5 separate regions of the Homo sapiens genome follow, and all the other regions are linked to region 5. Evidence: promoter capture Hi-C in 16 types of primary human blood cells and fetal thymus (Javierre and others, 2016). All regions are on one chromosome and are shown on one strand. The core of a region is centred on a gene start or on the middle of the fragment in contact, and the rest is flanking DNA. Distances in the headings are between cores, read along the strand shown. Region 1 overlaps MIR3663HG (MIR3663 host gene). Region 2 holds the start of VAX1 (ventral anterior homeobox 1). Region 3 has its middle 3.8 kb from the start of MIR3663HG. Region 4 has its middle 17 kb from the start of SLC18A2. Region 5 holds the start of HSPA12A (heat shock protein family A (Hsp70) member 12A).

Region 1 (5,020 bases), core at 2,138-4,637, 410 kb after region 5:
ACTCCATTTAACAGGTAAAAAAACTGAGGCAAACAGAGGTTAAATGATTTGTCCAAGGCCAGCCAGCTGGTAAGATGGTGTGTATGTCAGTCTGCTGGGGCTGCCACAACAAAATACCACAGACTAGGTGCTTAAACAACAGACATTTATTTTCTCATTGTCCAGGGGCTAGAAATCCAAGATCAGGGTGCCATTAGAGTTGGTTTCTAGTGAGGGCTTTCTTCTTGGCTTATAGATGGCTGTCTCCTCCTTATGTCCTCACATGGCCTTTCCTCTGTGCCCATGAGGAAAGAAAGAAAGATCTGGTGTCCCTCTTCTGAAAAGGACACCAGCCATATTGGATTAGGGGTCCACCTTTATGACCTCATTTAAACTTAATCTCTTCCCTAAAGGTTCTGTCTCTAAATACAGTCATATTGGGGGTTAAGACTTCAACATATGAATTTTGGAGGAACATAATTCAGTCCATAACAGTGTGGAATGACTTTTTTTTCATTCATTCATTTACTGAGCAACTAAGAATTGCCACTCTTAGGTTAAATGGCTGGAGACATAGCAGTGAAAAAGGCAAACATTGGCTTTGTTCTTAAGGACTTTTTTTTTTTTTTTTGAGACGGAGTCTCCCTCTGTCTCCCAGGCTGAAGTGCAGTGGCACAATCTCAGCTCATTGCAACCTCTGCCTCCAAGGTTCAAGTGATTCTCCTGCTTCAGCCTCCTGAGTAGCTGGGATTACAGGCATGCACCACCATACCTGGCTAACTTTTTTGTATTTTTAGTAGAAAAAGGGTTTCACCATGTTAACCAGGCTGGTCTCGAGCTCCTGACCTCAAGTGATCCGCCCACCTCAGCCTCCCAAAGTGCAGGGATTACAGGCGTGAGCCACCGTGCCTGGCTTAGGAATTTAAGTCTAGAGGGAGAGGGTAGCAGCAGGCAAGGAACAGGTAAACACATCAATCAGCTGGATAATTCAGACAGTGTTAAGTGCTACAAGGTCATAGAATGTGTGACTGGGACTGTTTTGGCCAAGCATGTGCAGAACCAGGGAAAGAGATTCCCAGGCAGAACAAAGACAAGGGCAAGGGCCTTGAGGCAGGAATGTGTAGCATATTAGAGGAACCGAGGAAGGCTCCTTTGGCTGAGTCAAGGAGAGAGTGAAAGAAGAGCTTGGAAAGGAAGCAGGCAACAGGCCATAGAATGGCTTCGTAGGCTACGAGAGGGAGTTTATATTTATTCTAAGAGCAATGGGCAGCCACAAGAGTTTGCGATCTGATCAATGCTTTTAAAAGACCCCTGTAGCAGTGTAAAGATACCTCATAGCAATGTAAGAGTGCAAATAGGGACCCCAGTGAGGAGGCTCTTCGTTCGTTCACCCAGCAAATATTTAAGGAGCACCTACCTGCCACATAATGTGCTGAAACCCACTCTCAGGGAGCACAGAGCCTCCTGGGTTGCAGGATGGGACCTCACCTGCCATATGTGCTCCTAGTGCGGGATACTTCTAATCTTCCACTGAAATGTCAAATGAATCAAGACATTCCTGAGGGCTAAACTTTGTGGTCCAGGCTGCCTGTGGGGAAGGAGGTCAGAAGAAAGAAAGCGCTGGCCGGGGTGAGAGCCAGACTGTGCCCATGGCAACTTTGAAGATGTGGAACTCAATCCTGGCATTCAAAGATGAGCATAGGAGAGAAGCAGGTGCCTTTCTTCCAATGGCTGCAGAACCATGTCTAAACACCTCCCCATGCACATATGTATTTATAAACAACACTTCAGGCTGAGCACCAGCTCATGCCTGTAATCCAGCACTTTGGGAGGGAGAGAAAGGAGGATCGCTTGGAGCCAGGAGTTCCAAATCAGCCTGGGCAATGTAGTAAGACCCCTGTCTCTATAAAAAATTTAAAAAATAGCTGCACGTAGTGTTGCACACCTGCAATCCTAGTTACTCAAAAGGCCGAGGCTGGAGGATCACTTGAGCCCAGGAGCTTGAGGCTGCTGAGAGCTACAGTTGCACTACCACGCTCCATCCTGGGTGAGAGAGCAAGGCCTTATCTCAAAAAAAAAATTTTTTTTTAAAGAACACATGATACTGTTAGAGTACTTTCAAATATAACTACATAAATGTCTCATGAAAGTACACATAACAGATGTGCTGGTTCCTTATGTTTTCCATCTGAATAAATACAATGCTCCTTCAGTTTAGACCCAACCAGGAAACCTGTACCATAGCCCTGCCTGACTCTACGCTTCCCCTTCCACCCTCAGTCAAGGGCGGCTGGGGAATGTCCTGATGCACAGGCAAGGGGCAGAAGTGCGCAGATGCAGCCCATAGCTAGAAGGTAGACATGGCAGGACCTGCTGTTGGATTGAGTATGAGGGAAAGGGGAATCCAGGATGACTGCAAGATCTACAGAGGACAAAGGAAATACACATTGAGGGGGAGTGGAAACAATTAAGATCTAGGCACTAGCTTAGCTACTAAGAGGCTGTTTGATTCTAGGCAAGCATTTCTCTGTCTAGATCTCAGTTCCTCATCCCGAAAATGAGACTTCTAAAACTCAATAACTGGCCGGGCACGGTGGCTCACGCCTGTAATCCCAGCACTTTGGGAAACTGAGGTGGGCGGATCACTTGAGGTCAAGAGTTGGAGACCAGTCTAGCCAACATGGTGAAACCTCGTCTCTAGTAAAAATAAAAAATTAGCTGGGCATGGTGGCGGGCATCTGTAATCCCAGCTACTTAGGAGGCTGAGGTAGGAGGATTGCTTGAACCTGGGAGGTGGAGGTTGCAGTGAGCCAAGATTGTGCCACTGCTCTCCAGCCTAGACAACAGAACAAGACTCTATCTCAAAACAAAAACAAACAAACAAAAAACCTCAATAACCAAACTATATATGTTATAATATTTAATATCCACCAAAATTTATAGAATGAGATGACAAACATTTGTATAACCACCACTGAGCATAAGACACACAGCACACCAATGGAATTGAAGGCCCTCTGTGTACCCATTCCTATGGCACTCCCTCCCTCCTGCCCCCACCCCAGATAGAATGATACTACCATGCTACTAAATCTGGCATTTATTATCTCAAGTGCCCTCTTAAGGTTTAATAATAATTCTGTTAATTTTATGATTTGACAAGACCTCTTAATTTTTTGGCGTAATTGACTTGTAGTTGACAGAAATCTTCCATACCTACCATCTCATCTGATTTTCACCAAAATCCTATGAGGATGTGCTAAGCTTGGGAAGATTCTCTCCAGCTTTTCATATGAGCAAAGTGAGGTTCCGAGTGTGATATGTCATAGCACTTAGCATCCTGACCACGTTTCATCGCATTTCATGCTTTGTTTTCCATTGCTAGTTATTTTTTCATGTACCTTTGTATCCATCACTAGACTGTAAGTTCTTGAGAGCAGTGATCTCTCTCCTGAAGCTGTGGCCAGTGTGGTAACGTTACAGGGCTCAGGCTTCAGTAAAAATAAATAAATAAATACCCAGTGATGAGGGGAAAGTAGCCCACGTTACGGAGAAGCTTCTGAAGCCTGAGATAACACAGATAAGGTATGTAGAAACTGGACCTAAAGAGAGGAATAAGACACAGGATGCCCAACAGAGTATGACGGAGCTCCACGGACTGGAACCCATGACACAGCATGCTGGCAAAATTTGGCTGTTATAAGTCACGCCCCTGATGTTTGAAAAGGCAAAACAAGGAAGTTTTCGGAAGAGCTGTAAGAAAGCAGAAGGGTTATCCGGTTCACTTGTTGCCATAATCCTGGACTTTCTGCAAACACATCATACACCATGACATCATGATGTGTAATGGGATCATATCACAAAAAACCAATGTAATGCCATCAAAAGCATGACCCTTTAAGAATATTTCAGAATTCACACATTTAGGACTAGGGAACTTTAAGGAAATGGTATTAAAGACAGCCATGATCTACGGCTGGGCGCGGTGGCTCATGCCTGTAATCCCAGCACTTTGGGAGGCCGAGGCGGGCGGGTCACCTGAGGTCAGGAGTTTGAGACCAGCCTGACCAACATGGAGAAATCCCGTCTGTAGTAAAAATGCAAAATTAGCCGGGTGTGGTGGCACATGCCTGTAATCTTAGCTACTTGGGAGGCTGAGGCAGGAGAATTGCTTGAACCCGGGAGGCAGAGGTTGTGGTGAGCCGAGATCACACCATTGCACTCTAGCCTGGGCAACAAGAGTGAAACTCTCTCTCTCAAAAAAAAAAAAAAAAAAAAAAAAACAGCCATGACCTTAAAAATTTTGTCTCACTCAAAGCTGGAGTGGATCTCTTTTGTTCCATAGACTTCTCTGAGCCTCCCAATCCATCAGTAGGGAAATGAGAACTTCTTACAAGCCATTGTAAGAACTTCTCCCCTATTTCAGGCATTCCTTATGAAAGCTTTTTTTGTCACATGTCTGATATCCTTAAGGAAAAATAAAACGTGTTGGCCTTAATGATTTCAACCTCTTAGACTTAAATGGAACACAGTAATATGCCAGTTAATTTCTGCTTGTAGGTTCCCAAGTAGGGCTTAAAAATATATTCTAGCTTTCTCAACTATTTTTCATAAAGAAGAATCATCATGACTGTGAAGACCACTGTGATTTGTGGAATAAATCCATAAATGTATAACCCAAACAGATCAACTAAATGAAGCTTCCCTCGAGCATGACAGTAAGTCGGCTGGGCTCTAGGAACAAAATGTGTAAGCACAACACTCACAGAGTGGATATTCTTTCAAGTGATAGAGACAGGGTTGGGAAGGACTCTAGAGTTAGAGCCTTCCATGGGCAGTGCTGTTTATTGTATACACAAATAATAGTGACAATCGCTAATATTGACTGTGGAATGCTTTACATGCACCTTGTCATTCACACTTTCTTACAAATAATGGGGCACTATTCCTTTTATTTCTTCTACTCTTAGAAATAACAGAAGCTCAGAGTGGTTAGTAACTTGCTCTATCACCTAGAGAGCAAATGGGGGAGCCAGGCTTC
Region 2 (5,107 bases), core at 1,438-3,937, 400 kb after region 5:
CAGCCCAGATCCCGGACCTAAAATGCTCTCCACCTGCTTCAGGGTTGGGCATGGGGAAAAGGATCAGTCTTCAGAAAGAAGGCTGCCGTAGCTAGGCCAAGCTGGTGACATGCCACTTGGCAAGTTCTTGGGTCCTCTCCTGGGCCCAGAGCCCACATGGCCAGCTCCAAGGGGCATCATATGGATTTAATGTAAAGGGAAAGATCTAAAGCACAATCAGCAGTACTGGCTTCTGGGTCCTAGATCTCCTTCCCATCACACACCTCACACATCACTGGCCCAGAAGACAGGGTCTCCTAGGTGCTCAGGGCTGGGGCCAGCTCAGAATGGGGAAAGCCTTCCTTTAAGGGTCAGGGCAGCCTGATCTGCACAGGCAGATCTCCAGGAGGGCGTACACCTAATTCCTGGGAATCACCCATGGTGCTGGGGCAGGGGGTGTTAGATCTAGCCTCACTCCTGTAGAATGGGCCTGGACGCTGAGTACAGCTGGGTGGGCCCACAAGGGGTGGGGCCTAGAAATCTAGCCAAAATGGGGTACCCCAAACAAGGGCAAAAGTCAGTTCTTTGTAGAGCAGAAGCTCGAAGGAAATGCTCAAAACCGGGGGACAATAAAAATTCCAAAAGGACAGGATTTGGGGCCTTCTGGGCCTAGGCCAAGGTGGATAAAACATGGGCCCTGGAGGATTTGGGGATGGCAGGAATGGTGGGGGGAAAGGATGTATTATCTAGGGGAAGGAATCCTTAGGCCTGTCTTACCCATCCTTCCCATCTCCTCCACCTCCCAAGGGTAGTTCTGTCCAGAGCAGGTTAGGAGGTGAAGAGCAGGCTAGGTAGGGGTGGTGGGGAGGAAGGCTGGTGCAGAACTGTGTGCGGCCTGGTCGCCGGGTACCTGGGTCTCGGAGAGGTTAAGCTGCCGGGCGAGCTCGGTCCTCTCGCGGCCCACCACGTACTGGCAGCGCTGGAACTCCATCTCCAGCCGATAGAGCTGCTCCGCGGTGAAGGACGTGCGCGTCCTCTTAGGCCGGTCCAAGTCCAGGCCCTTGGGCAGGATGATCTCTCGGATGGACCCCTTGGCATCTGGGGAAGGGGAGATGTCAGCCGCCAGAACCCTCCCGTCCCCCTCCACCTCCTTGGCCCGAGCTGGATTTGGGGACACAGTCCCCAGAAGCGTGCAGTTTTGGGGATGGGGGGCGGGGTGCGGAGCGCGACCACAACCAGGTAGCAAAGACACTGTGTGGAGGGCAAGGGGCCTAACTCCATACCGCTGACCGAAGGAGGGACCACACTTTGTCTTTTTGTAGAGTCCTCCAGACAGGGGAGAGAAAAAAATCCAATCAATTCCACATAGGCGGACGTTTCTTCCGGCCTGGGGGGGCCTCGGCTGAGCCTTCCGGGTCCCCTGTAGCCTGAGGGTACCCTTGTCGCCCCGCCCGGGTCCTGCGGGCCCCAGCTCTGGGCTTGCCGACCAGACCGTGATCCAGACGTCCCCACCCCCACCCTCGAGTCTCCTTCCCTCCGGAGTCCGCGCGGCGGAAGGAGGAGGGACTGAGTCGGGGCCGGCCGGGCCCGGAGATCTGCTGCTGGCTGGGGCGGCGCCGGGCCGGGGCCCGGCCTCGCAGCCTCCGCCGCCGGGGCTAAGTGCACGCCGCGCCATCCGAGAGCGGCAGAGCAGAGCACCAAAGCGGCAACCGCGGCTCCGTAACCAAGCCCAGCTGCCTCTCCCGGCGGCAGCGGTCGGGCACCGATCGCGGCCGTGGGGTCCTCGGCCCAGTGCACTAACTGGCAGGGCCGTAGCCCGCGATCGGCAGCTGTTCTCCGGGGCTCGCGTTCCCCCTTGGGTGCGCTCAGCCCTCCAGAGCGCGGGAGTCCCCTGGCCGGCTCCCGGCAGGTCGTCCGGCCCTTGGAGCGCGCACACCTCCTCCCGGAGTTTTCTGCTCCTTTCCCGGGTCGGAGGCCGCAGCCCGATGCCCGGCCGCACCCGCGCAGCCCCTCATCTCCCCCCGCAGCCCGGTCAGCGGGGCCCCTCCGGGCGTGGAGGGCCGAGGCCCCTGGAGAGCGCACCGGAGAGTCCCAGGCGCTTGTCCCCAGCCGGACTCGGGGCGGGGAGGGCCAACAACTTTCTCCCAAGTCCCAGCCGGCACTCCTTCCCACCGGCCTGTGTCGGCGGCAGCGCGCAGCTCCGGCCCCGGAGTCGACCCCAAAGAACGCGCCTGGCAGCCCTGCCCATCCCTACCTCGGACCAGGATCCGGCGGCAGTAATCCGGGTCCGCTGCGGAATTGGATTTACTTTTGTTACAATCCTCAGCAGCGCCCGACGCTGAGAAGGCGCCCTGCGGCTCCTTGAGGAAGGCGGCTGGGAGGTTCCCCTCCGCGCCCTTGCTCTCCCGACTCTCCTTGTGCGCGTTCTTCGAGACCCGGGCAGCCTCGGCGTCCGAGTGGCATCGAACGTCCATTTTGTCTGGTTTCCCGAACATAGGCAAGAACAACAACAAAAACAGAAAGGAAAAAAAAAGCAAAAAAAAAAAAAAGGGGGGGGGGCGGAGAAGGAAAAAAAAAAGAGGAAAAAGGGGACAAAACCCCCGACAACGCGGCCCGTACGCCCGGCCCGGCGACAGGCAAGGGGCAAGAATGAATGTCCCCGCGGGGAGGCTTCGGCGGCCGCGCGCGGGTCAGCGGCGACGGGAGAGTGGCGCGCTCGCCGAGAGGCGGCCAGTCTGGTCCAGGATCCTGGTGGAGCTGCGGCGAGGCCGCCTCGTCAGCACCCGCGTCCTCTGAGCACGTCCAGTGTCCCCAGCCTGGCGATCAGGTAGCGAACAGCGCAACTCCGAAATGCTGCGGCTCCCGCCTGTTTCTGAGACGGCGAGTTGTAGTTGTCCGACACCCGGGGGGACGCACACTCGCTGTTGCAATTGATTACGGGTAATTTCGCAGCCCCCACGTTTCGGTTACCTCATGAATACACTAAATTGTTTGGATAATATATCAGATCGTAATGGATGGTTTCTGTCCTTGTCCCCAATCAAGTAGGGGTTTAGCCAGTGAATAAACGGAAATGATTGGTCTTGCTTTCAGGAAACACACAATCAAAGACCCACACTTCCAGAAAAACTTTTGACAAGATTCATCCTGAATTGTTAGTACCATTAGCAGGCATTATTAACTTTCCTTTTGCCTTTGACCCTCCTGCTCACATACTGGCTAGAGGGGTTTTCTCCACACTCGCCAGATAGAGCTGAATGAGGGTTGGGCGGCGGGGGGGTGTGGGGGGAGAAAAAAAAAACCCTGCGCACCCTGCGGCAGAAGAAAGCAGTTGTCTGGGAGTGGGGGATGGGGGACAGAGCGGGGGGAGAAAGTTTTCCCAAAAAGTATCTCCCTTGCACTCTAAAAAAGCCAAGATTTTCCCCTAAACAACTCCTTCTTAACACACCTCGACGCAGACAGCCATCTTAAACTGCCACCTCTCTTCATTTAGTTCCAGTTGGATTTTTTCATGCCTGCACCTCCAGCAGCCCTGAGGCAGCCCATTCAAAGGGCAGCTTTGTACTCAGAGTCCAGCAGGAGAGAGAGGGGGAGAGGGAGAGACGGCCGAGAAATCTCAACTGTGAGATCTGCTTCAAAAAAAAAAAAAAAAAGTTTTCCCCTAGCTATTTCATTGTCTCTGCTACAATATCTTTGAGAAAAGCAACAGCCAGTAATCCAATAAGAGCATTGATTAGGCTACAATGATTCAATTCAAGCGCATGGCCTTGTGCAAGGAGCATGCTCCAGCCCTTCTCGTCACCTTGCCGGGGCAGAAGCCCTCTCCACGCCGCTCTCCCCATTCATTCCTTTATGGGAAATGCGGAGCAAAAGGAGTGAAAGATGGCAATTATCTAATTGGACTATTAACAAACAGTCCTCTGAGTGCGGCGGTCTGGCGTGGCTCCTGGGCGGGGGAAGGGCCGTGTTCCCTGCCCTCATTCACAAAGAGTGCAGGGGCCGGGGAGGAAAGGGGTTTTTTAAAGGGGGTGGGTGGGGGGAGAGGAGAGGTGGGAGGTTTGGCTGAGAATTTTTCCACACAATTCCAAGAATGGGGCGGAGGCGGGGGGAGGGGAGGGGGTTGGGGAGGGGGTCGCGGCGAGCGGGTGGGAGGAAGGCCGGGAGGGGGAGGGGTGCGAGTGTGTGTGGCGGGCCCCTAGGGGCTCCAGCTCGCAGCGACGCGCGCACCGTCCGCACCTCCCGCCCCGCCGCCACCTCCCCTGCCTCCGCCGCCACCCCGCGGGACCCCTCTACCGTCCCAAGCCAGGAGGGGGCCCCCTGAGCGGGGTCTTTCGCGCTGTCCACCCAGCCACCCCTCCAGCCACTTAGGGGCACCCAGGTTTGGCCCAGCTCCGGAGGGCATCTCTGGCCCTGCAGGCCGACATCAGGCTTCCACTTTAGTTGACTGGGCGGAGCGGTGGAACTGTCCCGAGCTACTCTCCGCAGGGCGGCGGGTTTCCAGGGTCCCCAGCGGGCTGATCGCCCCTCAGCCCGGCTTCGCTGCGCACGCTGCCCTCGAAGTCCGACGCCGACTGGGCGCCCGGGGAAAGTGCCTTTGATTACGAGCTCTGCTCCGGCGGGTTGGTGAGGCGGGTGGGAGCAGAGACGGGTAAGAGGGGTAAGGGACTTTGCGGCCACCCTGTTCTGAAGATGTAGAGTGGGATTGTGTTAAAATCCGGCGAACTCTCCTGTTACCTCCCGCAACGCTCAAAAGCCCAGACTGGCGCCTTGAGGCACCGAGGGCTTTGCTCCCATGCGGCCAAGCCGTCGGGGGTGCAGCCGCCGGGTCTTGACTCCCACTACCGCGTCGCGGGTGCGGGTCCCTGGGATTCGGGTCCTCCTGATGGGGGTCCCTGCAGCAGATGGGGCATTCACTTCCCTGCAGAGCTCGGCCCGAGGGAGCTCCTGGGCCTCCTTGGGCAGGGAGGGGTGCGACCGAATTCCCTGGCACACCGGCCCTTCCTTGCCCCCTACCCTGGAGGGGTTGGAGGGGTCGGACCCTCGGACTACGCGAGATCGGGTGCGCAGGAGGATTCTAGGCCTTCCTCAGCCCTTTAGGAGCCCTGCAGGCGGCGGAAGTCCCAAACCG
Region 3 (5,584 bases), core at 1,766-4,265, 430 kb after region 5:
TAAAAAAACAAAACAATGCATGTAAAGAGTTTGGCATAAGCCAGGGAATAGTATCTGTTATTTCTCCTAAAGCTGGACTTCGGTGAGATTTTAGCTAACGAAGGCTTGAAAATTAGGTTTGAGTTGGGGCATCAGAAGTTTTCACGTTGCATGGAGGGTAAGACTAGAGCCAGGGATGCACCACCACACCCAGTGATCATTCATGAGTTCACCCCTCCCAGGATTAACAACTGAACTCTCAGTGATGTCTTATCTTATAAGGCTCTAGTCTTATCCTCCATGCAATGTGAAACCTTTTCAGGTTCTCCAAGGATCCTCCTAGGTCCGACAGTCATCGTGGGCTTTTCTTGGGGGCAGTGCTGGTCTTTCTCCCCTGTATTCCTGCCTCTAGCATGCGGCTGGGCACACGGGGTCAGTGCTGTCTGCTGAAAGAATGGTTGATGACATCATCCCATCACGTGGCCTTTGCATAGCCAATTCCTTCTGCCTGAGACATTTATGCCTTTTCCCTTAGCTTAATTAACCCTCTCTGAATGGGTCAAATTCCCCTGGCATATGCTCTCAGAGGACCTCAGTGCACTTTCTCTTCAGAGGGTTTATCACTGGTTAAAACGTTAGATTTATTTGTTACTTATTTGTGTGATTACCAGATAGTCTTTCTTCTGTTCTAAACTTCATGAGGGCAGGAATCATGGCTGTTTTCTCATCATTGTATCTTTAGCACTTAATGCAATGGCTAATTGTTGAATGCAAGTGGTTTTTATGGTAGGGGGGAGTAGCTAGATTCAGAAACTGGTTTAACCCTAACCCTCACCCTAATCAGCAGTCATAGTAGCCAATTCACAATGCACTATTTCAATATGTTGTATAGGAAATTAATCTCCAGGCAAACTATTGCGCTACCAGGCAAACTATTCTGGAGGTAATACAATAGAAAGATCTAGTTAAGATACTTGAATCATACAGATTGTTGAATAAATTTTAAACACACAATGAGAAGCAAGAGGAAAGAGATGGGGTAGGTTAACACATATACCACAGAAGCAGGTGGGAAGTCCCCTTCCTGAATCCTGGGCCATTTAATATGCAATGTTCACATATTGCCTCCCACCCATATCCCTCCCACCCATATTAACTTTCTTTCTTAATGATGTGGTTACAAGGACCATAATTGAGGATGAGTGAAGGGACCCAACAGAAAGAAGGTGCCCGAGGCAACGATACACGCTTTTGCTATTGGAGAGCCAGGGGCAAGTTCTCCTGGCCACAGCAGGAGCATCCATTAGCCTCCTGAACAGCTCTCTCTGTTTATCTGTGCTTCTTGGGCAGAACACAACTGGGACCATAATGGGTGTCACCGATGGATGAGTGGCTGATTTTGGGAATCAGATAGCTGTCAGCCCTGATGTAGCATGAATGTATCTTACAACTTGGTCTTTTAATGTCTCTCTATTGGTCCATAGCACTCTGGTTTGTTCTATTATATGTTCCACTTATTGTATCTGTCTTCAACATCTCCCACAGGTTATTGATTTACTCATTATCCATGTGAATTCTGTGAGTTCTTCCTGAGTCTCACAGCTCCATCTTATTCATCCCCTCTTCTACTTAACACATACTATGAATTTTGCTTACGTCTTATAATCTACGGACTTGCTTGCTCTCCACATCTCATACTTATTATGAATGTATCCATTTGCTTTTCTTACCTTCTGAAGATTCCCAAATAAAACAGTACACAGGCACTACACAACACATTTATTAAATGCCTACTGTGTGCTAAGCATCATACTAGGCATCGGTAATCCCGACAGGATTCCTCTGAAACTTTCCATCTAGTGGAAAGACAGTTAACTAATCCCCCAGTCCTGTGAAATGATCCACTGTGTCAAGTGCCAGGCAGGGCTGGGGGAGATCTCTGCTGTCCCAGGAATGTGGAAGTGGGCAGTCCAGGAGAGCTTCCTTGACGATGTGGCATCTGAGGTCTGAGATCTGAAAGGTGAGCTCTAGTGTCCTAGGGTTTCAGAAATCCCTAATAAATAAACATCAAGGCAAAGTGTACTTTTGTTTGCACTATCTTAGTTTTGAGTCATATTTTGACTATTTCTTGTCCAACTTTGCCAGAGAACACTAACCTGTTGTAGTCCCCCAAAAGCACGAATGTTATGTTTTATACAACGATTGGAATGAAACACACCTATTGGCAAAAGATGCTGCACAACAGTGTTTAGGCTTACAAATGGTTCTAATGGGGATCAACAGCCTATAATTAGAATTTAACAATCCAAGAAAGGAGTAATATGCACCCTGCGGGACAGATTGGAGTCTTTTTCTTTAGTTCTGCAGGTTTGGTGGGTAGACTGGCTCCCGACTTCCCTCCTACAATAACTGTCCTACTGAGGTAAACATGTCACAAACAAGAACAATGAGATCACCAATAATATAACACTAATACCATAAACAAAAGAAACACCACCTTCGGCTCTGGTGGAATGAAAAACACAATGTGGACCAACTAACAGAGCTATTTAAAAAACAAATTACTCACAGCCAAGCCTTCATAGCTCTCCAAATGCAATTTTCCAGGAAGCTCGGTAACAAGCAGAAGTTTTTCCTGAGACGTACTAGCTTTTGCTGGTTTGGTTGCAGATCTGAGGTGTTGGACAAAGAAGAAAATGCCCCACATAAACCCACCATGACACTTATTCTCCCGGATTCCTCATTTTTCTCCCAACGTGAGACATTTCTAGTCACAGGTTACTGTAAATGGAGAGTCTTGCCAGCGTCAGTTCATCAACGACATTTTCCTAAAACCTCAGGCTTTGCACAAATGCCAAAACCCTCATCCTTGATAAGGCCATTTTTTTTAAAATGCACACATGAATAACAGAATGTGCACATTTTTATTTTTATTTTTATTTTCGGAGTCTCACTCTGTCCCCAGGCTGGAGTGCAGTGGCGCTATCTTGGCTCACTGCAATCTCTGCTTCCTGGGTTCAAGCAGTTCTCCTGCCTCAGCCTCCTGAGTAGCTGGGATTACAGGTGTGCACCCCCACACCCGGCTACTTTTTATATTTTTAGTAGAAACGGGGTTTTGCCATGTTGGCCAGGCTGGTCTGGAACTAACAGCCTCAGGAACTGCCCTTCCAACTAGAACCGAGCCAGACTGTCACCACAAACATCAGAGGAGTCTCAGCCCTGTTCCTCATTGCCCCTCTTCCTCAAGCTGCCCTGTGAAATGGGGATGCTGGGGAAGGCAGAGGCAATGGCATGAAGGCTCTAGGCCATTTCAGAGGAGGCACTAGCTGACATGAGGATGAAAATCACTGATGAAGGGGCTTGATCATCCCTGAACCAAAACCCTGAGTGTGCACCATCTTGGACAGAGTCTGCATTTTTGACCATGCATGAGAAGAAAGAGAATGCAAGTGCTCTCTTCATTCAGAGTTTTGAACCCAGATGCCTCAGAGGGCGCCTTCCACCCATCTCAGCTACAAGTCATGAATGGCAAATGAGACCTGAGCAGGGGAGGCCTGGGGGACAGCAGCAGCTCCCTGTTGGTCCTGTCGTCCCTCTTGAAGGTGCCTGCCAGTGCAGGCCAGGCTGGAGGCTGCAGTCATCTCTTGGTAGAGGGCAGGAGGAACTCAGGTCTGCCTGCCCTCTGAAGCCTTTCCAGACATCCCCAGGAATGGCTGCCGTTACCCAGTAGTCACGCACGCCTCAGATACATTGTTTTTCTTTTTTTTCTCCCCCAAGGCTCTGTTGCTTAGGCTGGAGTGCAGTGGTGCGATCTCGGCTCACTGCAACCTCCACCAGGTTCAAGCAATTCTGCTGCCTCAACCTCTGAGTAGCTGGGATTACAAACATGTGCTACTATGCTTGGCTAATTTTTGTATTTTTAGTGGAGACGGGGTTTCACCATGTTGGCCAGGCTGGTCTTGAACTCCTGACATCAGGTGATCCACCTGCCTTGGCCTCCCACAGTGCTGGGATTACAGGCGTGAGCCACTGTGCCTGGCCAGATGCAGTTTTTCTCATGCTTGTCCTTGCACATCTCCTGGGTGCAGGAATGTCTGGATCCCACAACAGTGATCTGTGCTGAACCCCCAAACCTGAAAGTCAGGGCCAATTCTCTCTGCCTCCCCCACTAGGTGAGGTCTTAGATTTTGCATGAAAACTAAAGGCCCATGAGCCCAAGGGTTCTCCCCTCTTTACAACTGTCTCCAAACTTAAAGAAGGAAATTGCTGGCTGAGTATACCCCCAGAAGAAGGAACAAGTGCTAGTGACATATTCACATGAGGACGGAAGCCTCATGAATTCAGACTATTCTAAGATACAGGTCATCTTAGGTGGGCTTTGTCATGCTTTTGGACGTGACTGCTGCATCTCCTTCTAGGAGAATTGAACCACTTCATCCTGGCAGCAAAACACACTGCCCACATCCCCATCCCAAACCGAGATGAGGGTCTGCAGTAAGAAGCGGCACATGGAATCTATAGCCGGAGTGGTTCTGACTTTAATTTCAGTGCCTGGAGAACACAGTCACAGCTCTTATCACTGTTCACAGGGCAGCTGGGGGAAGAGGGGCACTCAGGAATGGGGCTGGGACTCCTCTGATGTTCGAGGTGACAGTCTGGGCTCTGTTCTGGTTGAAAGGGCAGTTCCGGAGGCTGTAAAGCCTGGCAGAGGAGGGGAGGGGAGCGAGGGTGCTAGGATTCAGTCCTCTGGAGAGAACACTACAGACTGAATGCAGAGGCAGGAGTTCTGATTTGGAGATCATTTGGGTCTGAAGTATTTGAGTCTGAAATGAGGGAAACTCACGGTGGAGGACAGCTATTCTGTCACTCTGCAGATCCAGCATTATTCCACCATATGCTTTTCACGAATTAGTAGTGAAGTTACAATCTTGGGCGTTTTAAACTGATCTTTGCACCTGCTGGTGGCAGAGAACAGCATTTCCCCCGCCCCCGACTTCCTTTATGAGCTGGGAGGAAGCAAAATCCAGCTCTATTGTTGGAGCTCCCTCTGGTGGCAGTTTCCGAAAACGATCCAGCCCTGAGGATTTTGCGGAAGGTAGGCAACACCGAGGCATCCTGGGCATTCAGTAGGAAGCAATGAGAGGAAAGATCCTTGGCCCTTTCAGAGATGGGGCGAAGGGTCAGCTGTCCCCTCTGCAAGGTGGCAGATTCAGAAGAGTTGGAATTCCTCCGGAGTCGGCCCTGCCAACATGCGCACGTGTCCTGCGGGGTCAATGATCTGTGCAGACGACTTGGAAATCCGCTGCGTGCCGCCCAGGCGCGTGCATCTTTGCTTACCCTTTCCTAGATCGGTCTCAGCCCCGCAAGCAGATTGGCAGCTTCCGGGGTGCTGGGACGGCGCCCCCTCCTGCCTTCCCGCTAGCATCTGGCAGGGACTGGAGTGCTTCCTGGAGACCCGTAGGCCGGGGACAGGTCACCAGGTGAAGCAGCGCGCCTCCGGAGCTGATGCTGGGTGGCCGACTGCGTCCGCCACTTCTCCTGCCCGCCTGCCCGTGCTGTGTGCGTCCTCATAGGTCTTGACAGATGGTGGCGGCTTTGACAGTTC
Region 4 (5,352 bases), core at 263-2,762, 480 kb after region 5:
CAGAAAACTTTGAAGTTGACTTGGATGTGGGACAACAAAGGGCACTTCCATCTTGGATGCAAATTGTGGCTCCTTTTCATCCTCCCTGGCCCTCTACTCCTCTGCTTTTATTCTTGTCATTAGATCAGGAAATTAAAACCTTTCAAATGCTGTACATTCCAAACATAGGCAATTACAGACCCTGTCTCAGAGGCAAGTCCCTCCTTTAGCCTCTTCAAAAAGTAGTTGCATTTGTAGAAAAACAGAGATGACTGTGCAAAGGCCGTCAGCATTGCCTGTGTGTCTCTTCCAACAAATATTTATTTATGCAAAAAATGTATGTTGATCCAACTAATCTGTATCTGTCCAACCGATATTTATTGGGCATCTATATGTGCCAGGACTGACTGAGGTGGATGCTGGGGATGCAGTGTGCTATAAGACCAACCAGGTCTTTGCTCTCACATAGTGTATGGTCAGGACTGTCGCTCTGTGCCTCAGTTTCTCCAGTGTATAAGCCAGTGGAAGTAGCCCAGGCATTTTCATGTGGCGTTTTCTGAAACCCATGGGCAGATCGGAGTCTCTTATCCCTGATTTGGTCTGAGTAGCTTTGCTTTGCTATGTTTTATATTTGGCTTCTTATAATGTTTTGTTTGAATACAGAAGTCCATAATTAAAGACAGAAAGGGTGGGGTAGAACTGAACACCACTGACCAAGGATTCCCTAAGGTTTTTCCAGGTGGAATGTTCTGTGATGTTGCCAGCTAAGAGGACTGTAGGTTCTCTGGGCTGCTAGGCCACAACAAGGGGGCTGATATACGGGACCGGGTCAGTTGCATTTAGGATGTAAACCTGCCTGAGATGATTGACATCTGCCTTCATTTTAAATAATGCAACAAGAGAGCAAATCCTGCCATGTTTCTCACTGAGGTGACCAAGGGCTTCATTTCCAAAGGCATCTTCCCTCTCACACTCCGGATCCTACCTGGGCCTCAAGGCCCCACCATCACCCCTTGCTCCCAGAGCTCCTTCAGGGCCAGCAGCCTTCAGGGACGATGCCCTTTTCCGGGATGCCCCTGCCCCAGCTGCTCTTGATGCACCCACTCTGTGATGATGTGGGGTCCTGGCCTCTCTCTCCAGCTGGGCTGTGTGTTCTTCAAGCGTGAGGCTTGTTGAAGGGATGTTAGGTGAGGTACCGGTTGGTCTTCCTTATTCCCTGAAATGCAGGTGGGAGAAGCTAGTGGCAGCCCAGTGGGCCAGCCCTCTGCCACCTTTCCCTCCCTTCTCAGCACCCTCCCTCCTTCCTTCTCAACAGGTGACTGAGGGACACCAGGCTCTGATGACAAAGACATCCTGACTCTTTTCCAAAAGCCACATACAATGTCTGGGCAGGGAAACAAGAAGTGGGACCGTGCATTTTATGGATAATCTTTTGTTTTGAAAGCTTCAGCAAAGCACTTATTGACACAGCCAAATCAGACAACTGTCATGTGCCGCCTGCTGCCTGGGCCTGCTCCAGGTCCCAGCTGTCACTCTCCCCTAGGCTGAGCTGTCTTGTGTTTGTTTCTTTGGGATGCACATTCCTTCTCTCCCTGAAGGCTAAATTCATGCAAAGAGCAAGGAAAGCTTCGGGGCTGCAGAGCAGCTTGTATCAAAACACCCTGAGCTGTCTGAAGCCGCCCACCCTGGGGGCTGTTGGAATTTTGTTCTCTTCTCTTGTTGTCATGGGGCCTACACAGAGATCAGAGGCACCTTAGGAGCCAAGGCTGTGTCTTCCACTGCATTCCACAAGGCCCTTCAGGCCCTCTGTTAACTCACCCATCTAAGAGGTGAATGGCCCCCATTCTCCAGAATCATGGAGGAATCCCAGGACAGTGAGGACCACACACAGATGGCCTTCCAGGAGACTGGACAGCTGGGCTGACTGCAAGATGGCTGGCTCCTGGCCTTCTGTGGTGGGTGGATACTGATGCCCTTGGCCTTCAGGTGGCCTGAAGATGCCAGCCCCATTTTGCTCAGAACCCAAGGCCTCAAAATTCCCTCTTTGCACCCCTCCTTTGAGTCCACTCCCATCCTCTTTGAGCCTGAGCTGTTTGTTCTGAGCTGTGTTTCTCCCTCTTCAGGTCCACCCCACCTACCCCTGCCAGGGGATGACCCCCTCTCCATGGCTTTAATGTCCCACCCCCTACATGGAAGCCTCTCTCTTGCCCCCAGAGTATGGCGGAGCTCTGTGGACTTGAACGAGGGATTTTTTCCAGCTCTAATTGCATGTCGATTAGTGCCCAGCCCCCATGCAGTGTTAGTTCCACGAGGCAGGATGACTGATTGATTCACCACTGTGACCTCAGAGCCTAGCACAACTTCTGGCACATAATAGGTGATCAACAAAAATGAATGCATGAACAGCAGATGGCTCAAAATGAGCCTTAATTATGTGGCAGGACTACAGGATCTAGAAGGCCTTCTGGAGCCCGCTGGTGCTGGGCTGGAAAGCTGAGCCCGGGTCTGAACCTGAAAGGAGTCACCATTCACCTGGGAAAAGACCTGGGCAAGGAGGAGCCTGGATAGGAGGGGAGATGAGTCAGAACATCCTTTGCTCTGTGCCAGTCACTTTGCTATGGTCCTTACATCTTTTAATCATCACAAGACATACAAGGGAGGTGCTATTATGATCCCCAGGGCTGAGATGTGAAGTGACTTGCTCGCAGTCCCCTACTCAGTAAGTGGTAAAACAAGAAAGGGATCCAAATGAGAAAGTTTTTCTCCAGAGCTTGGCTCTTACTTGACCACACATTGCATGCACTGTGCAGTCTTCAGCTGACCCTTGGTTTTGGCTGCAGTCATACCAAGAAGGGGCCGAACACCTGTCTCTTTAAAGTGGGCAATGGATATGTCTGTCATTGCCGTATTACTGTTGCCTCCTTTCAGAAATAAAGAAAAGTGTTCTTGGCTGGGCGTGGTGGCTCACACCTGTAATCCCAGCACTTTGAGAGGCTGAGGCAAGCAGATTATCTGAGGTCAGGAGCTAGAGACCAGCTTGGCCAACATGGTGAAACCCCATCTCTACTAAAAGTATAAAAATTAGCCAGGTGTGGGGGCATGCACCTGTAATCCCAGCTACTTGGGAGGCTGAGGCAGGAGAATCACTTGAACCTGGGAGGCAGAGGTGGCAGTGGGCCGAGATCACGCCATTGCACTCCATCCTGAGCGACAGAGTGAGACTCTGTCTCAAAAAAAAAAAAAGATGTTCTTGCTGGCTTAACTGCACATGCCACTGGGCCCTTGCCCAGCTAGAGTGTCAACCCCATATATGCAGGGCCATGGCCTCCACTATCGATGCCCATAGTGACAGGCACCGAGGCCAGCACATGGTAGGCCCTAAGCTAAGATTTGCTGATGGGGACTCAGCCTCCCTAGAAGTTAGAGGGACTGGAAATGCTCTTTCCCCACCTGTTGACATCCCCACCTGCTGCCTGGGGACCAGCAGGATCCTGCCATGAGTACAGGGATCAGAGGCCTAGGTTGGTTGGCACCCACCAAGCCTACTCTGGCCAGGCTTTGAGGGTGTGTTGGAGAGGGCCTCCTGGCGTTCCAGATGGAGTGCTGGTGTGAAAAAGCATCTCTTCCCCTGCTCACTCCCTCAGCCTTCTCTCCCCACTGTAGATTTCAAACTAGCAAAAATGAAAGTGTGGCCTGGGGACCAGATCAATGTAAGCGTGCAATTGTTTTCCGTCCTTAACAGGATAAGTTTCTTGCACCTGAACATCAGTCAATTATATCCCCAAGAACACTGTTTAGTACAGCAGGCAGTTTTTTTTTGGTAGCAAGGCTTTCTTGATGAAGAACGCAGTGTGTTAACGATTGTTAAAGAAAAAGTTATTCTGACCCTTGTTCAAACAGCAAGGAAGACTTTATTCTGGACCATTCTGATAGGTGTCAAGACTATCACAATAGGGGAGCCAGATCAAGCTCAGCTCAGAATACAGCGGAGACAGCTGGGGGCTTCAGAATCTTGCTGGAGGCAAGTCAGGGAGATCAGATTACAAGAGTGGAGAGAGACTCTCAATAAGCTGACTTAGAAGAATTCTTGCTATAACTGAACTAGGGAGGCTGAAGACAGGGCCCCAGGGTAAGACCTAGTCAGAAAGAGGGCTCTGAGGGGTCGGTCTAAAGTTTGCTCAAAGAGAGTCTTTGCCAAGCTCCCTATCCCATCATGTGCCTAGAAAGAGCAGTTGGCCAACTGGCCATTTTGAGGAGTGTTATGGTTAGAATGTCCAAAGTCATGTTGAAATTTAATTGCCATTTTGATGGTATTAAGAGGTGAAGACTTTAAGGAATGATTAGGTCATGAGAGATCTCCTCTCATGAATGGATTAATGCCGTTATCACAGGACTGGGTTATTTTCTGGGAGTCTGGCCTCCTTTTACGCTGCCTCATGTGCCTGCTCACCACATGATGCCTTCCATCTTCAAACATGGAATGTCTCTTGCGAGATGCTGGAGCCATGATCTGGGACTTCCCAGCCTCCATAACTGTGAGCTACATAAACTTCTATTCTTGATAAATTATCCAGTCTGTGGTGTTGTTATACCAGCAAAAAATGGACTAAGACAAGTAACACTGCTCTGAACAATCTCATCTTCATTTCTTTCTTCAAAAGTTTTCTTCCCTTGGTCTTGCCTAGAGAAACTTCTAGAAGAATATTGGAAGCTGTTTAATTGGAGCAAGATTCAATGGACAATAGTAAAGAAAAATACATACTTCTGCCTGAGAATAACAAGACTGAATTAAAACCTTTTTTTTTTTTTTTTGAGATGGAGTCTCATTATGTTGCTCAGGCTGGCTATGAACTCCTGGGTTCAAGTGATCCTTCTGCCTCAGCCTTCTGAATATCTGGGACCACAGGCACAGGCCACTACACCCAGCTAAGACTGAATTTTAAAAAGGAACAAGAGTTATTTCCTAGGGAAATGAGGGTGTTCAGCGCCAAGAGCTGAGCCTGTGAGGCACGCTGGACATGTGCCCTGGGGGTTCTTTTGTACACCCCTGGCAGGTTATGGGGTTGGAGACATGACTGGGAGGGAGAGGAGAGACAAGAGGTGGATGGAGGAGAATTCTACATCTACAGTTTCTACTTACCCAACGTTCTTCTAGAACCTTCAACGCTATGCTGACCAAGACTGGCCAGGATGAACCCAAGGCAGGAACCACCCCTACAGCTGTGAGGCTCCCGGCGCTTCTCCATTCATTGTGCCATGTGAGGCAGGAGGGCTGAGAGTCATCTCTTTAGTGGAGGAAACCCTGAAGCTCAGGGGATGAGGGGTGTGACCCTGATCTTACAGCCAATGAACGGAAGAAGAGATTCCAGCCAG
Region 5 (5,040 bases), core at 2,267-4,766:
TACAGCTTGGTGGCTGAAGGAAGTAGGGCAGCCACTCTCTATTAGCCGCAGGCCTACTCAACACAAGTCCCTGAGGGCCTATGACATGCCAGGCACATGCCAGGAGAGGCTGTTCAGCTTGACCACCTGGGGCCTGCATCCCATGGCCTAGGTCCTTACCTAGGCCCCCTTCCAGCTGTGCGCTGCTAGGACTGTCAGCTTTTTCCTCTGTGAAATGGGGATCACAGGGCGTCCTTCATAGTCATTCATTCAACAACAAACGTGGTCAGGGCTAAATGAGATAACTCAATATTCCCAGGTTTCAGCACACACTAAGTCCTCAATAAAAGTGAACGTTTAAAATGTTTATTTTTATTAAGATGAACCTCCAGGATGGCATCTCCAAAGCCCAATGCCAGGCCTCGAGAGATACCCTCAACCCAGGCAAAACTGCCTGCCCACCATCCCTCTCCTCAAGCCCGTGCCCTGGAAAAAATGACTTGGTTTCCACTCTTCATGTCTAGCCCTGACTTGGTCACCATAGGAGCCATCCCTGTCCGAACCACTCTGTCCACCCCCAATTCATCTCACCCTTCTAGGGCTCCATGTGTCAACCCACTCAGGTCATGCGGGAGGGGGCAGGATTGAAGGTCATCTCAAATTTTGCTGTCCAACACCCAGACCCTCAAGTGTGGCCCTTCAGATTTTGTAAATTAAGTAATTTAAACATCTTATTAAGAAAATTTGCAAACATACACAAAGTAAGCAGAATAGTAATGAACCGCCGCTCCCCATCACCCAACTACCACATTTTGCCATTCTTGTTTCATTGGCACGCACCTCTGCCCACTCCCCACCCCACCCCAACTGCACTTGTTGGAGAAGATTTCATGGCCAGCCTTTCTGACACCACCCCCCAACACCACCTACCCACCAGCAAACCCCTCCCCAACCCAGGACTGCCACTGCTCACAAATTCCAACAGTGTGATATTTGTGGCACCCATCCTTTTGTACCAAAAACATTCTGGAAATCCTTCCCAGGAAGCACAACCATTTTTTTATGTCCTTAATAGAGTGGTAACCACTGCACACATGCATAAGGGCTGTATGCACAGGTTGGTGCCCTGGAATCAGATGGCCTGGGTCCCAAACAACACTTCCCAGATGTGTGACCTTGGATAGGTCACTCAACCTGTGTTTGGATTTCCCACCCAGGAAGGGGAGAATGCTGGTAACAGGTTTGTTGTGAGCCTTTAAAACAATAAAATAATGCACGCTCTTTTCCCAGCAATGAGGAAACCTTAGAAATAAGTGTAGGGGCCAGGGGCAAGCCAACTCTGCTCCTATGCAATACTATTCACATCCTCCATTTTACAGATAAAGGGAGAGGTGCCCAGAGGCACAGTGAGCTGCCAGGGACAGCCCGCTCTTCAGGTTGGTCTCTGTCCTAAGTCCATGCACCTGGAATTCTCACTGGCCACCTTGAGCTGGAGATGACTGGAAGTGAAGAAACAAATACTCCAGAACAAACGCAGAAGAGCGGTGGCAGGTGGCTCGGCACACCAGGTATGGGTGTCCCCATCCTGGACAGGATTTCTCCCAGCACCGTGTGTGTGTGTGTGTGTGTGTGTGTGTGTGTGTGTGTCTGTGTGTGTGTGTGTGTGTGCGTGTGTGTGTGTGTTAGGATAGGGGTGCTGAATTTGATTTACAAGACAAAACAGTGTTGGGAAAGGTGTGGGGAGTGGGTACACATTCCTGCCCACTTCTGATTTGACAAATCCTATGCCCAACCTTGTATTTGGTATCATCGCCCACCCTATCCCAGCATGAGAGGCAAGAAACTGGCTCAGTAATTCTCAGGCTTTAGCAATTCAACGCCCCTACTTATCGTCCTAAAAATTTTTTTATTTTCTGACTTAAAGGAAAAAAGTAAAAAAAAAAAAAAAAAAAAAAAAAAGAGTCAATCCAGTTGCTGAGTGATGTTCAGACAAAGACAGCTGCCAGTCCATTGCCTGCGTTCACCAGCTGAGGAAGAGTACAGGCGGGGACTGGGTGTGTGTTTGGGGACGGCCTGGGCTCTCCGCTGCCTCTCCCTGGAGTGAGCCCTGTCAGGATCCCCCACCCGCCACCCTGCACTCCCCCACCACTGCAGTGCCGCGTGGGGAGGCACCTCCCTGATCCGCAGGAACAATGGGCTGGGGTGGGGGCAGGTGCGGCTTGGAGTGCAGCAGAGGGTGGGGGCCGCAGGCCCGACAGCAAGACAGGGAACCCAGCGCAGATGGTGGCTGTGCTGCCACTGGACTCAGTTTCTCCAGCTTTTGGGGCCCCGCAGAGCCAAGCGCTCGTTTCGTGGCTGAATCTCCCTTGCGTCCCGGCATTTTAATATCATCCTCGCAGGCGGCTTGCCTGTCGCTCCCGGGAAAGATGCCTGGGCCGCGCTCCTCTCCCCGGCGGCCGCTCTCGCCGAGGCCCTGCAGGTCAGGGACGCGCGGCGCCTCCATGCGCCCAACTTTCCCCACTTGGGACCCACAGGAAGACTGGAATCCTGGCCAGCCGGGCCCTCCGTGGGAGAAGCCTTGATTTACAGCCCTGGGCTCCGAAACCTGCTCGTCCTCTTCCCGCAACCCCCTTCCCCGTCCTCTCCGGCTCCCCCACCCTTCGGAGCCCTAATCACGCTCCCCAAAGAAAGCGGCCCTAGCACATCTGCAAAATGCGAGCGTCTGTCCTCCGCACTGGGTGCCTCCCCCTGCCCCCCGCAAGGAAGGGACCATCGAACCCCCGCCGCTTCACCCTTCCCCAGCCCAGTGAGTCCCTGGGGATGGGCGGGGAGGTGGGTGAGAAGCCCTTCGGCCGCAGCTGCAGCCCCCACTCCTGGCTCGAGCGTCCGGCCGGGGTGGGATGGGGCGAGGGAACAGGTCCAAATCTCCGATTTCCCCCAGGCTCCCACTCCTGCCTCGCTGAGTCACGAAAATTACCCGCTGGGGCCACCCGGCCACCCGGCGGCGGGCCCTTTACCCAGCCAGCGCCGGCCTCCGCAGCCCATCGCGCGGGGGCTGCACACGCGGGGCGGTCCTCACCCGCACGCGCGACCAGCCCCGCAGGAGGCGCCACCCGAGGCAGGGACCAACCAGGCGCCTCAGCGGGGGCTGCAGTCCCCGCCGCGGAGTCCGCACCCTGGCGGGGCGCAGAACATGTGACCCGCGGGCCGTCTCCGGTCCACCGGACCCCGGCCCCCGGCCCCGCTGCTGCTGACCCCGGCCCCGCCCGCCAGAACTGGATGCAGCGCGGGCGTCCCCACTTTTCCACGGCGCGCGAGGGGGTGCGGAGCGTTGGGCCAAGCGCGCCTCCTCCCTCCCTGCCCCGCCAGCCGCGGCCGCAGGACCCGCAGCCTGCGCTCACCTCGGGGCCCGTCGCTGCCGCCGGCCTCCTTGTCCGCCATGGTCGCGCAGCCCCGGACCGCGAGGGGAGCCTCCAGCGCAGCGCCCGTGCCCGTGCGGGTCTCTGTCCGCGTCCGCGGCGGCGCTCGGGCCGTGTCTGAGCCGCCGGGCAGCGGGAGCGCTGCTCTGACGCGGCAGCCGCCGCAGCCACGGCTCCTCCCCGGGCCCCGCCCCGGCCCGCCCGGCGCCCCGCCCCTCCGAGCTCGGGCCGGCCGGGAAAGGTCGGGGAAGGCGGGCGCGGGGAACTGCCTGGCTCCGGAGCTGCGCTCCCCGCCCGCCCAGAGCGGCCCGCCGAGGCCCGGCCTCTCCTCTCCCGGCTTCGGGACCGAGCGGTCGCCCCGCAGTCGACCGCGGCGGGGGTAGTGGCGCGCCCGGGGCTGCGCTGCGGGAGCGGATTTCAGGCCCTCGGGGCCCCGCGGCGCGTCCCCTCTTTGGAAGTCACCGAATGGCCAGGCCTGGAGCCCTTCAGCAAGCCCAGCGCGCCCGGCGCTCTCCCGAGGACGCCCGCGCCAGTCCCCACCAGCTTCTGTCTGTCCCCCAGGGTCCCAGGGGAGCGGCCCTGGGCCGGCGCAAAGGCGGGCTGGGTGGACCCCGGCGCGGGCAGGACCCAGGCCGCAGACCAAGGACCTGCGCGGGGGCCGAGCCCGGGGCACCGCCTCCAGGCCGCCTGCGGGACTCCATGGCAACTCCGGACCCAGGGAGGTGCTTGCCCCGGAGGCTGAGTCGCGCCTTCCATATATGGGATCCAGCTGGGCCCTCCTTAGAAGTCTGAGAATAACGATATTAATAATGCAAGGCTTCAGTTGTGAATGATTCATACTCCCTGTCCCCAGCTCCTCCACACACACGCGCCGCTGGCACCTGTTTGGGCCTGGCCAGGCACCCCCTGGGTCCGCGGTGTCACCACCCTGCCTTGGCAAACGAGGGCAGTAATAGGAATCCGAGGAGCACCGTCACTGGGTCGTTTCCGGGTGCCTGGCACTGTGCTACCTGCCTGGTGCTTTACCTCTATCTCCTTTCCTCCCCATAACTAACATTTTGCAGATAAGGAAGCTGAGGATCGGCAGGGTTACAATATCACACCCAGCAGGTGAGTCGCGGAGCTGGGATTCCCACCCAGCTGTAACCACCAGCATCCCTCACTTCCAGAGATGGGTGGCATTTCCCAAAGATCACCTAGGGGAGGCTTCATCGTACAATCCCGTTCTGGATGACGGAGTGGGCAGAGAGCTGCTGCGAGAGCGTTATGGATGACGGAATGGGCAGAGAGCTGCTGCGAGAGCCTGGAGACCAGAAGGTGATGGCAGAGTGACAAGTTCAAAACACAAAACTTGTCTTCTGTCTGCCTGCATTAAAAATCCCAAATGGACAGTTCCTGGCTGTGCATGAAACCACAGTCAAGTTATTTAACCTATCTGAGCCTCAATATTCTCATCTGCGAAATGGGTATAACAGGAGAACCCACTTCATAAAACTGAAGATTAGATAGACTATGCATGTAACATGCTTAGCTTGGGATCTAGCACATGGTAAAAATCATTAAGTCACTGATGGCCCCCGAGGGCCCTTCCTGCCTACGTGCCTGCGACAGCCTGCCCACAGCTCCCCCGCCCTCCTGTCTC

Evidence for each region. Contacts are between HindIII fragments. The CHiCAGO score rates a contact against its expected background, and 5 or more counts as called.
Region 1: a contact is called between a fragment that was not itself captured here and the fragment with the promoter of HSPA12A in region 5, in 2 of 17 cell types (naive CD8 T cells and monocytes). The highest score is 7.3, in naive CD8 T cells.
Region 2: a contact is called between the fragment with the promoter of VAX1 here and the fragment with the promoter of HSPA12A in region 5, in 3 of 17 cell types (M0 macrophages, endothelial precursors and monocytes). The highest score is 5.4, in M0 macrophages.
Region 3: a contact is called between a fragment that was not itself captured here and the fragment with the promoter of HSPA12A in region 5, in 13 of 17 cell types (naive CD4 T cells, naive CD8 T cells, total CD8 T cells and 10 more). The highest score is 13.8, in naive CD4 T cells.
Region 4: a fragment that was not itself captured here is called in contact with the fragment with the promoter of HSPA12A in region 5 in 1 of 17 cell types (naive CD8 T cells); the score reaches 5.4 in naive CD8 T cells.

Annotation. Positions count from the first base shown.
Region 1 is chr10:117,153,390-117,158,409 of GRCh38, forward strand. It overlaps MIR3663HG (MIR3663 host gene), which reads right to left. Exons shown (of 3, transcript NR_121651.1): 3 at 132-274. Among named protein-coding and RNA genes, the nearest start is that of MIR3663, 12 kb to the right of the region's middle. The HindIII fragment of the contact is 292 bases long and covers 3,242-3,533 here.
Region 2 is chr10:117,135,583-117,140,689 of GRCh38, forward strand. It overlaps VAX1 (ventral anterior homeobox 1), which reads right to left and starts at 2,688. Exons shown (of 3, transcript NM_001112704.2): 1 at 2,234-2,688; 2 at 890-1,077. The coding sequence starts at 2,474. RefSeq lists enhancers at 4,271-4,857, 4,858-5,107. The HindIII fragment of the contact is 11,137 bases long and covers 1-5,107 here.
Region 3 is chr10:117,170,015-117,175,598 of GRCh38, forward strand. No RefSeq gene overlaps it. Among named protein-coding and RNA genes, the nearest start is that of MIR3663HG, 3.8 kb to the left of the region's middle. RefSeq lists an enhancer at 5,105-5,284. The HindIII fragment of the contact is 6,412 bases long and covers 1-5,584 here.
Region 4 is chr10:117,221,670-117,227,021 of GRCh38, forward strand. No RefSeq gene overlaps it. Among named protein-coding and RNA genes, the nearest start is that of SLC18A2, 17 kb to the right of the region's middle. RefSeq lists an enhancer at 1,033-1,533. The HindIII fragment of the contact is 182 bases long and covers 1,422-1,603 here.
Region 5 is chr10:116,739,050-116,744,089 of GRCh38, forward strand. It overlaps HSPA12A (heat shock protein family A (Hsp70) member 12A), which reads right to left and starts at 3,517. Exons shown (of 12, transcript NM_025015.3): 1 at 3,381-3,517. The coding sequence starts at 3,420. RefSeq lists enhancers at 3,382-4,086, 4,087-4,790 and a silencer at 3,382-3,831. The HindIII fragment of the contact is 20,528 bases long and covers 1-5,040 here.